Regions from separate parts of the Homo sapiens genome. Here all the other regions are linked to region 1. The links are contacts of gene promoters, found by promoter capture Hi-C in blood cells and fetal thymus (Javierre and others, 2016). All regions are on one chromosome and are shown on one strand. The core of a region is centred on a gene start or on the middle of the fragment in contact, and the rest is flanking DNA. Distances in the headings are between cores, read along the strand shown.

Region 1 (2,923 bases), core at 291-2,790:
TGATAGGGAAAAAGTAAAATATTAGCTAAGAAAATGGTACCCTCTCTTTCTGATGCTTTGGCATCTCATATTCCTTTTTTCATAAATCCAGCTCCCGGAACTCAAGAGTTCTGTGATCTAGAATTGTCAATCTCAGGTTGGGAACACCTGATTCCAGTGCAGAAGCTGCAGGGCAGCTGGTCATTAGAGTAGGATATGAAAGTTCCCTTTCTTATCTCCACCTTCCTGTGAGGTCCCTGGGGAGAAAAGGGGCAAGATCTTGGTCTGGTAATCAATTTTTCATTGTCCTGGATCGATCTCACTTTTGAGTGCAATTGCAAGAGAATAGGCCTGAGTCTTGCTGTAGTAAGTTAGCAACTGGCCTTATAGCATGATGAGGATCTGACATGGATGGTGCTGGGGGTCTAGATATTCTCAATAAAGAATCATTGGTTTGATAGCAGAAGGTCTCCTGGCCAACGGCCTATCATCCCTTTGCTTGTCTTCAACACACTGGGAACATATGGGCTCGAGCTTTTTGCTTGTTCCTTAGCTATCTGTGTGGTGCTCCTCCCTCTCCAGGCAGGTGGATGGAATATATAAAATCCAGACCCTGAAGGCTTCCTAGTAACACAGAATATGCATACAATTTCATATATACATTCGATAAGACATGTACACTCTCACTCATATAAATAATTATTTCCATCTGCATCTAAATAAAAACCAAACACAATTCTCCAAATTTACATGGGACCAAGAATCCAGCTTTTTAGTTGCCTGTATTTGTCCCCTTAAGAATTTTACTACTAACCACCTCCTCTCCCACCTCTTGATTTACAGACGACATTCCCCCTTAATGCTTTGACATAAAGGTGGGCACACAAGAGTGGGTTAGGACATTGAAACAAATCATTCTAAAACTTCTGTTATATTGACATGTAGAAGAGACCAAGTGATATGTGAATAAAAGGCATATTATAAAAAAGAGCTAATTCACATTTAGTTTGGCATGTGCCTATGAAGAGCCTTCCTGGTTAGCCCTACTCCTGCTTCCTAGGACAGAGGAAAATTTTCCCCACCACATGGGAGCACAATTAAATATAGAATCCCAAAATCTAGACTCTATATAAGACCCAAATTTCCAGATCATTAAAAAAATTAATGCGCTCCTTCCTATGGGAGAGACTGCATTCTTATAGGAATGTGGCTTTATCTATGGCTTCAGTAGACCCAACTTTTCATACAAGTCTAACATCCCTATAAGGAACATACACACAGTATCACACGGAAACACACATCCCACATTTAAAAATATGGTTTTTATTTACTTTTTTGTTTTCTTACTAGTTCCATCCAGAGAACTTTGTCCCTGTTTTCTGGAAAATTATTTTATTTTATTGTAGAGCCCTGGACCCCTAAATATGTCCTCCTTCCCCAGCTGGCCCAGGGTGACTGCGAGGATAGAGTTGACATCACAATATCCCTTTTCTGAGGATTCATGCCCCTGGTGGGTGGGGTAGGAGGAGGGGTAGCCCTAGGAGAAGTCATCACCACTTTGTCCACCATGGGTGAATTATGAATCAGTAGCTATGCCAGGCCTCAGCTGGGCCACATCTGGAGAACTGGGGTGAGGGCACAACATCACAAAATATCTGGCCCCAGTCTGGTCACTCATCCCTTTTAGGGCAACAAGGAAACTATCCTGTGGCCTGAGAGCACAATACCTGAGACAAAGGCCAGCAGAAACATTTGTCTGCCCTCACCCTTTCTGCCCCAGCTTCCACCTGCTCCCCATCTGCCCACCCACTAAAGCCCATGTGGCATGCCATCTCTCGAACATCCAGGATGTCCCAGAGTGGATGTCCATCAGGTCTGCTGGCAGACAAAAATATCTCTTCAAGTGCCACTCGAGTGATAGTGAAGACTGCAGGCAACCAGAAAGACTTTATGGTAGCTGATGACATCTCGGTAAGGCAGTTCAAGGAGATGCTATTGGCTCACTTCCAATGCCAGATGGACCAACTAGTGCTGGTCTTCATGGGTTGCCTTCTCAAAGACCATGACACACTGAGCCAGAGGGGCATCATGGATGGCCACACCATCTACTTGGTCATCAAGTCCAAGCAGGGCTCCAGATCTCTAGCCCATTCCTTCCGGGACCTGCCAACGAATGATCCCTGCCACCGGGACAGAAACACCAAAGGAAACAGCAGCAGAGTGCACCAACCAACTGGTATGAATCAAGCTCCAGTGGAACTGGCCCACTTTGTGGGGTCTGATGCACCCAAAGTGCATACCCAAAACTTGGAAGTGAGCCACCCAGAGTGCAAAGCACAGATGCTGGAGAATCCTAGCATCCAGCGGCTTCTGTCCAACATGGAGTTCATGTGGCAGTTCATTTCAGAACATCTAGACACGCAACAATTGATGCAGCAGAACCCAGAAGTTTCCCGCCTTCTTCTTGATAATTCTGAGATCCTATTGCAGACTCTGGAGCTGGCCAGGAACCTTGCTATGATCCAAGAGATAATGCAGATCCAACAACCTTCACAAAACCTTGAGTATCCACTGAACCCACAGCCATATCTGGGCTTAGAGACAATGCCAGGTGGGAATAATGCCCTGGGTCAGAACTATGCTGATATCAATGATCAAATGCTGAACAGCATGCAAGATCCTTTTGGAGGAAACCCTTTCACAGCTCTCCTGGCAGGACAAGTGCTAGAACAAGTCCAGTCTTCACCCCCACCTCCACCACCATCACAGGAACAACAAGACCAGCTCACACAGCATCCTGCAACCCGAGTCATCTATAATAGCTCTGGTGGTTTCTCTTCAAACACCTCAGCCAATGACACCCTTAACAAGGTCAACCACACTTCCAAAGCCAACACTGCTATGATTTCCACCAAGGGCCAGAGCCATATCTGTGCCACTCGGC
Region 2 (2,923 bases), core at 264-2,763, 390 kb before region 1:
AAAAAAAAAAAAACTCTAGAGCTTGATAAACTCCCTAAACAACTTTCCTTTCTTGGGAATTCTATGTGCACACTGTGCTGTTTTCAAATATGCTCCTGGCTCCCATGTTACAGCCCCTGGAACATATACTTGGTAATGAATGGGGTTTTCTCTTCTGTATTAGCTTCTATGCTCCTTAGAAATTAAAGTTCTCTGTTACCCATTTCCATTCAGATTACTCACTTTCTGGAGCACGTGACATTTAGCAAAGTCTCAGAAATGATACAGGAAAACTCTTAGTCGAAGTTCTTAACGTATGATACCAAAATTAAGTGGTCTGGTGGTTTAACATATTTTGGGTAGAGTGAACAAAATTGAACATATTAGAGCCTTTAAATATACAAATGTAAATATTCAGGCTCTAAAATGAGATTTTCGTAGTTGAAATATTATATAATAATACATTAAATAAACTATAATTGAAAAGTGGTATTTTACTTAGAAGACACTCCACAATGAATTTTTTGTCATCTTTATTCCTTGTTAAATGATCTGTTTAGTTTTTTTTAAATTCTGTATCAATTTCAAAATATCTACTTAGAAAATGATTACTTGGTTACTTTTTCTTTATATATTTATATGACATATCACTTCAGTTTACTTCCACTTGTCAATTTATACTGTTATTTATATTGTTATTACTTTCGCACTATTCTCTGTACATTTCTGCTCATTCTACCTTGAGTTTCAATCAGGGCTCCATTTCCAATTAGGAGCCAACTTCACATTTTTGCAGCTCCTAGAATACCCAAAGAAATAAATTGTCCTATTTATCTTCTATACCTTATTAAGAATGACTTTATATTATTTCAGCAGCCACACTATTACAGTCTGCCCTAAAACCCACTCTAGCAAAGACTGTGGAGGATGGGATTTCCCTGAGTCCTTAAGCCCAAGACAGAAACCTGTTAACTCTTCAAGCTTTATAGTCTCCTGACTGAAAGTCTCTTTCACGAAGGTAAGAGCTGAGAGGTCCATGAAGAGGCCCATGCGTTGGGATAATCTGGATCTGGAGAGCTGACCTCAAACCAGGGATTGTATACTAGAGTGGATTAGTAAATGAAATCTACATACATTAGAAATAACAATTACACTATAATTATGTTTAGTAAGCACTCATTTTGTTTCCAAATCTTTTAATGTTTTACAAGCTGCACAGATTTTCACAACATTCACTTTAAGCTTCAATATCCCTGCTCATAAAATGCTATAAATCAGTATGAATTTGTTATTGTGAACTCAAAGAGTCTAAGTGAAATGCTCAGGTCAAAATTTTAGGTAAGGCCATAACCTGTATTTAAATCTAGATCTTATGACTCCTAGTTAATTTCTCTTGCCACTGTATCCTGCCTGGTTTTGATGAAATACCACATCATTTTAATCGTCATGAACTTCAGCTTTGGATATGTAAATACAGAGAATCTTCATGTGGAAAGGCTATTCAAGACAATTACTGGGCAATAACTTTTACAAAGCCTTTGTTTCTCTTTAGGCATTTTGTAGTATCATGGGGCTTAAGTGTGAGTACTTTTTGCACTTTTAATGGGTGAAACAGAGAGATTGTTTTGGAATCTTTGAGCTATAACTTCCAACAGACCGTACTGAAATCATGAGACGTTGTAGGGGATATAATGCTATTGGCTCATGTGGGAATGCAAGAGAAGTAGTAAAAAAAATGTTTCCAGTGTTTATTTTGTTATGATCTCATTATTGTCTAACTGAATTGTTGTGGAAGATCCTCTTGGGGTCAAAATGCCAAAAGCTTTTAGGGTTGAGTATCCTAAGTACCTGCTCTCGTATCTGTTTTGTTTTGACCCCATAGATAACAGAGTTAAGAGCAGGGGGAAAAACCACATACAGATTGGCCAGAAGAATGTGGATGTAATGAGGGATGTTGTGGCCAAAGCGGTGTGTCATGAAGGAAAAGAGGGCTGGCAGGTAGAAAGCCAACATAACACAGACGTGAGAGCCACATGTGCTGAGTGCCTTAGGCCGGGCATCCCAGGCTGGGAGATGGAAGACAGCTCGGAGGATCTGGACATAGGAAAATCCAATCACAGAAATGTCAATGTATCCCACTGAGAAGGCAATCAATCCATATATAACATTAATACTGGCACAAGCTAACTTTGCCAAGCCCATGTGTTCACAATAGGTATGAGGGATAATCCGGACACCACAGAAAGGCAATCTCAGGATGAGAAATGTGAATGGAGTCACAAATACCAAAGTCCTGACAATGATGACTATGCCCAGAATGGCTATTACCTTGTTGGTAAGGATCATGCTATATCTCAGGGGGTTGCAGATGGCAATATAGCGATCTATGCCCGTGACTGTCAGTACCACAGACTCCAGGCCAGTGCATATATGAATGGTATACATCTGTGTGATGCAGGCACCAAATGCAATCTCTCCAAGATTAAACCAGAAAATTCCCAGCATCTTGGGGATGGTTGCTGTAGACAAGCCCAGATCAGTGCCGGCCAACATGGCTAGGAAGTAAAACATGGGTTGGTGGAGGCTCTGTTCAGTCTGTATCACAAACAGGATAATGATGTTCCCTAGAAGGGCTGTTAGATACACTGCAAAGAAGGGGAAGCCAATCCATACATGCACATCTTCCAGCCCTGGGACCCCCACTACGAGGAAGGTGGAAGGGTGAAACTGTGTATTGTTGGTATGAAGCATATTGGTGGCCATTCCCTACAGACACATTTCTTGCATGAGTTTTCTTGCTTCCAGTGAGAAACCATAACTTCTTTCACAGCATGGTGTCTATTTCTTGGGGAAACAGAAAATCCATTCTTTAACTCCATAATATAGCATAAGAGACCTAGAGAGGGAATATGAAATATAGTTAAAAAGACACTCTCACTTTTAA
Region 3 (2,923 bases), core at 210-2,709, 340 kb before region 1:
TGCGTACGTCTCAATTCTGACTTCCCCCAATGTTCAAGTATTCTTAAATTGTAATCAATGCTTTTTGTGTAGTTGCCACGTCACATTTAACCAATTCCGCATTATCTGTAAAACTAGTTTTTCCCAAGTAAAAGTAAGTTGCGCAGTAATGAACTTTTTGCTTCAAATTTTGAATTTACTATCTGTAAATTCAGGATTTACTATCCGTAAATTCAGGATTTACTATCTGTAAATTCAGGATTTACTATATTGGAGACATCCATAGAGACAAAACAGCTGGGATAGAATTTGAGTAGCAGCTAAACTGTAGGTCATCCAAAGGGCTTCTACTTTCTTCCCATGAATATAAGACTGAGATATATTTGAAAATTTTGTAGCCCAGAATATTTAGTTTCCTTGCCACAGAAAAAGCTGGCCTATATATAAACAGTTTCTTTACTGAATGCGTGTATTTATGCACTCTCCAAATAATAGGATTATCTAGATTAAAATTATCTCTTCATCCATGTTCCATCATAGCTGCAAAATACTCTTTGTCAAGTATTTTCTTTTCCTTGTTTTTACCCATTTTCCAAATCCGATGGATAAGCTTCTTTTCTCAAACACAGGTGTGATGGAAACTAAATTATTTATTTCCTAAAATATGACATTAAAATTACCCACAGTTTTGCCTCCTTGTAATCAATGTCTATTTGTGGAGGTTTTAAATTGAGAACTATTATGTAGCAGATCTTTTTCCTGCATATGAGCAAGATAAATTGTTTCTTCTCTCAGAAGTATACAGTCTAGTAGTCACAAATTGTATACAGTATACACAGTCTAAATTGTATACAGAAGTATACAGTCTAGTAGTCACAAACTGTATACAGTATATACAGCCTAAATTGTATACAGAAGTATACAGTCTAGTAGTCCCAAATTGTATACAGTATAGTCTAAATTGTATATAGAAGTATACAGTCTAGTAGTCACAAATACCTGTAAAAATGCATAACAACACAGAAACGGTTTTACACACTACATTTTTGATTCCCAAATAGAGGAATAGTTGAGATTACAAATACCTTGATCGTGAAGCAAAAATATGTGTAACATTTCTATAGACACTGACCCTGGAACTTTATTTTTCTCATTTAGTTCTGGCTAAATTCCAGATTTTGCATTTTTATTTGGCAGATGACATTCTTCTGCCATTTCTTTTTATATTAGTCTTTGATATTAGGTGAAGGGGCAGTAGAATAAGACTGGTTCTATTCCTGGTACCAATGTTGCTCAGGAGAGGCTAGGAGAAATTGTGGAGAGTATTTTACCTTACTCATGAATATATATAAAGAAAGATTAATATGTTATTGTGAATTTGACTAGAAATCTGAACAAAAGAAGAAGTGGAACAAGAATTACTAATAGGAATATTATAATCGTCGCTGGTGTGCCCAGCAGCTTTATATGGCAGGAAGAATGTCTACGTCTAATCACACCCAGTTCCATCCTTCTTCATTCCTACTGCTGGGTATCCCAGGGCTAGAAGATGTGCACATTTGGATTGGAGTCCCTTTTTTCTTTGTGTATCTTGTTGCACTCCTGGGAAACACTGCTCTCTTGTTTGTGATCCAGACTGAGCAGAGTCTCCATGAGCCTATGTACTACTTCCTGGCCATGTTGGATTCCATTGACCTGGGCTTGTCTACAGCCACCATCCCCAAAATGTTGGGCATCTTCTGGTTCAATACCAAAGAAATATCTTTTGGAGGCTGCCTTTCTCACATGTTCTTCATCCATTTCTTCACTGCTATGGAGAGCATTGTGTTGGTGGCCATGGCCTTTGACCGCTACATTGCCATTTGCAAACCTCTTCGGTACACCATGATCCTCACCAGCAAAATCATCAGCCTCATTGCAGGCATTGCTGTCCTGAGGAGCCTGTACATGGTTGTTCCACTGGTGTTTCTCCTTCTGAGGCTGCCCTTCTGTGGGCATCGTATCATCCCTCATACTTATTGTGAGCACATGGGCATTGCCCGTCTGGCCTGTGCCAGCATCAAAGTCAACATTAGGTTTGGCCTTGGCAACATATCTCTCTTGTTACTGGATGTTATCCTTATTATTCTCTCCTATGTCAGGATCCTGTATGCTGTCTTCTGCCTGCCCTCCTGGGAAGCTCGACTCAAAGCTCTCAACACCTGTGGTTCTCATATTGGTGTTATCTTAGCCTTTTTTACACCAGCATTTTTTTCATTCTTGACACATCGTTTTGGCCATAATATCCCACAGTATATACATATTATATTAGCCAACCTGTATGTGGTTGTCCCACCAGCCCTCAATCCTGTAATCTATGGAGTCAGGACAAAGCAGATTCGAGAGAGAGTGCTGAGGATTTTTCTCAAGACCAATCACTAACCAGTTGGAGGTTGGAGAGTCTGTCACTCTAACCTAATAGAAAGCAGAAAAACAGAAGGGAATGCTGCAGCCAATAACATTATTTATCTGTTAACTGAAGCTTTTGACTTTAATTATAATAATGAGAATTTTACCCTTGTCGAACTCTCCTTTTCCAAGTTCTTTTATTTCTATTGCTGGATCCTCAAGGCAGTTTTATAAAGTATGTATTAGTTTTTCCATTCTTGTGATTAATATACTTATGTTCGGAAAAGTTGAGTGATTTACTCAAACTACATGTTTAATAGGAAGTAGTAATTTAAGCCAAATAGACTGCCTTATAGTTTTCTTTAGTATGTTTAAGAAATAACAGAATACGGAATAAAATTCTTACTTTAAAAAGATAATAAACAGAATAAGTGGCTTCTAGAATTCTTAAAATAATAATAATAGCTTACTCTAGTAATAATATTAACATACCATAGATGCAGTGTAGATATATGGGTATTGACAGGTATACCACACATGAATATACTCATATCAT
Region 4 (2,923 bases), core at 296-2,795, 280 kb before region 1:
TATATATAACATGATATTAAAATATATCATTTATATTAGCAAATAAGAATATAATTTTCATCAATATAACATCTTGACCTGCTTATCCATTTATATTTATTTTGTGATCACAGTCTATTACTTCAATTTTCTCTTGGATTATGTTCTTAATATTTTTCTCACGTTTAATTCAATCTTGCTATTACTAAATACATTTATCCTTCTAATACTACCATGCACTTTATCTCTGCTATTTCCAGAAATCTAAATAAAGTATAGTGTTCCCACAGTATTCATGAGGGAGTGGTTACAGGACACGACCCATAATAAAATCTGTGGATGATCAAGTCCTTTATATAAAATGGTGTGGTGTTTTTATATAACCTACACACATCCTTTTGTGTATTTTAAATCATTTCTAGATTACTTATGATACCTAATGCAATGTGAATTCTATGTAAACAGTTGTTATATTGTATTATTTGTTTCTATCATTTTTATGGTTGTATTATTTTTTTCCAAGTATTTTTGATCTGCAGCTGGTTGAATCCCAGGGTGCAGAACCCACATATAAGGAGGGCCAACTGTACTACTTTCTCCATTGTCCTTGACCACTCTGCTGCTTCTCCATCTACATGAAACTCAGATCAGTCAGTCAAGCCCAGACATCTTTGATTGGCAAAGTATATAGATTTCTTCAAGTCTTCTTTCCTCTACATCTCTCCTGTCCTCAAACAACTCTCAAGTAGTATCCATTGAATCTTTCAAAATTGTTCTTGACATTAACTGCAAAGAGTATTTCCCCAATCGTTATCACTCTAGTAACCACATTTATTGCAGCTTCATTTTTGTGTGCACTGGAGCATTCATATAAATCCAAATACTTACCCAGGCAGCAGGATGTCAGAGATAAATGAGCAGGCAAAGATGTTTTTCTCTAAAGTTATACAAGTTTCACATAAATATAGACTAGAAAGGATAACAGGACATTTGAGATTCAGTCCATTCGACAGGTCTAACTAAAGTTAAGTTTTGTAAAATGTATAATTATGTCTTGTCTATTTTATGTCTTTTATCACATTGAAGTCTTGAATTAAACATTTTGTGATTATTTAATAAAATTTATGGCAGAATATTCACATTTTTTCCTGAGTTCATAGTTTTTGAATCTTACATTTATTCTCTTCCTCTATAACTTTATCTTTATGCTGATTCAGACTTCTATATCATAGATTTATGTCATACTTAAAATACCTTTCTCTCTAAAAAACAATTTGATCACTCCTTCACGGATCTGCTTGGTCTTCACTCCATAGACAATTGGATTTAAGGTGGGAGGCAGCATCAGGTAAAGGTTGGCTATAAAAATGTGAACATGATGAGGTATGGTGTGTCCCCCAAAGCGGTGAGTGAAGAAGTTGAAAAAGGCTGGGACATAAGTGATGAAAATAGCACATATATGTGCTGTACAGGTACTGAAGGCTTTGTGGCAGCATCTGCAGATGACAAATTCACTACAGCACGGATAATCATGGTGTAAGACATGGAGATACAGAACATGTCAAACCCCCCAATCAATATGGCAGCTATGAGACCATAGATGGCATTAATCTGGACATTACCACAGGATAATTTGGCCACAGACATATGTTAAAATAGGTGTGGTGGATGAGGTTGCCCCTGCAATAGGGAAGACACTTGATCAGGAAAGCAAATGGAATCATAAGCAACACACTTTGAATGAAGGTGACAAGCCCAACTTTGGTAATTACAGTGTTGGTGAAGATGGTGGAATAGTGTAGAGGGTAGCAAATGGCCACATAGCGGTCTAGAGCCATAAGCATGAGCGCCCCAGACTCCATGCCTGTCAGCATGTGGATGAAAAACATCTGCACAAGGCAGGCATTAAAGTCAATTTCCTTGAGGCCAAACCAAAAAATACATAACATATTGGGAACAAATGAGGTGCATCCAGTAACATCTGTAAGAGACAGCAAGTCTAGGAAGTAGTAGGTGGGTTGGTGCAGGGCCTCCTCATGGCTAATGAGGTATATAAGTCCACAGTTCCCCAAAACAACAATGATGTACATGAAGCAGAAAGGCAGGGAGATCCAGATGTGTGCAGCTTCCAGCCCAGGAACGCCACTGAGAATGAAATATCTTGGTGTCAGGCTGGAGCTGTTGGCTCCATTCATGATGCTCACCAATTACAAAACATGCTAGTTTTTGTGCCAATAAAGTTGTCCTGTATAAGGAGAGAGTAGTGAGATTATTTTCATCCAGAGAAAAAAATATAAAAACGCATTTTTCACAATCTAAATAATAAATTTAGGAAAAAATAATCATTTTGTATCCAAACTATGTTTTTTGATTCTATTGAATGGTCCTATGACTGTAACTGAACCAACAGAATAAAAACATATTGTAAACATAGTGCCAAAGCCCTGGCCTGGCTTGGTTTTCTACTGGAAACTCTGTTTATATGTGTCTGCTTACATTCCTGGGCCATTTAGTAATGCTTGACTTTGCAACCTCAACCAATTTCCAAATTATAAACTCTATTTAAGTAACATTGATTTTCTTAATTCACTACAAACTATCCCTTCTTTCAAGAAATACTTTGAGATGTGTCCACTGGGTTATAGTTAATCAAATTATGTCAGCACCTACCAATTATGCACTTCTATTATGATTCAGCTTGATCTATATACAAGTGTAAACCTGGCAGGTCTGGATTTTCCAAGTCAGAAAAATCAAGGACAGAGATGGGAAGGGCCAAAAAGGTACATAATAAGTTACAATTTATAAATCATGGCCATGTGTATTTTGTATTCGTCTCTTTTTGTATTCTTTCAGGTTTCTTGATGGTAAGCATGAAATATTTTTGAAATGTTTGCATTTAGCTAATAACATTATTAAGCTCTACGTAATTTTCATGCTTTTT

Evidence for each region. The method cuts DNA at HindIII sites, captures the fragments that hold promoters and counts their contacts. A CHiCAGO score of 5 or more calls a contact.
Region 2: a contact is called between a fragment that was not itself captured here and the fragment with the promoter of UBQLNL in region 1, in 1 of 17 cell types (M0 macrophages). The highest score is 5.3, in M0 macrophages.
Region 3: the fragment with the promoter of OR52E8 here is called in contact with the fragment with the promoter of UBQLNL in region 1 in 8 of 17 cell types (M1 macrophages, M2 macrophages, M0 macrophages and 5 more); the score reaches 8.6 in M1 macrophages.
Region 4: a contact is called between a fragment that was not itself captured here and the fragment with the promoter of UBQLNL in region 1, in 4 of 17 cell types (M2 macrophages, neutrophils, fetal thymus and 1 more). The highest score is 6.3, in M2 macrophages.

What each region holds. Positions count from the first base shown.
Region 1 is chr11:5,515,316-5,518,238 of GRCh38, reverse strand. UBQLNL (ubiquilin like) reads left to right here and starts at 1,540. Exons shown (of 1, transcript NM_145053.5): 1 at 1,540-2,923. The coding sequence starts at 1,798. The HindIII fragment of the contact is 7,757 bases long and covers 1-2,923 here.
Region 2 is chr11:5,900,584-5,903,506 of GRCh38, reverse strand. OR52E5 (olfactory receptor family 52 subfamily E member 5) reads right to left here. Exons shown (of 3, transcript NM_001005166.5): 3 at 777-2,875. The coding sequence starts at 2,730. The coding sequence ends at 1,747. The region is part of intron 2 of LOC112268071 (a long non-coding RNA gene); the gene reads left to right. Among named protein-coding and RNA genes, the nearest start is that of OR52E5, 8.8 kb to the right of the region's middle. The HindIII fragment of the contact is 580 bases long and covers 1,224-1,803 here.
Region 3 is chr11:5,856,226-5,859,148 of GRCh38, reverse strand. OR52E8 (olfactory receptor family 52 subfamily E member 8) reads left to right here and starts at 1,459. Exons shown (of 1, transcript NM_001005168.3): 1 at 1,459-2,400. The coding sequence starts at 1,459. The coding sequence ends at 2,400. The HindIII fragment of the contact is 1,911 bases long and covers 592-2,502 here.
Region 4 is chr11:5,799,615-5,802,537 of GRCh38, reverse strand. It overlaps the pseudogene OR52N3P. Among named protein-coding and RNA genes, the nearest start is that of OR52N2, 7.8 kb to the left of the region's middle. The HindIII fragment of the contact is 3,367 bases long and covers 1-2,923 here.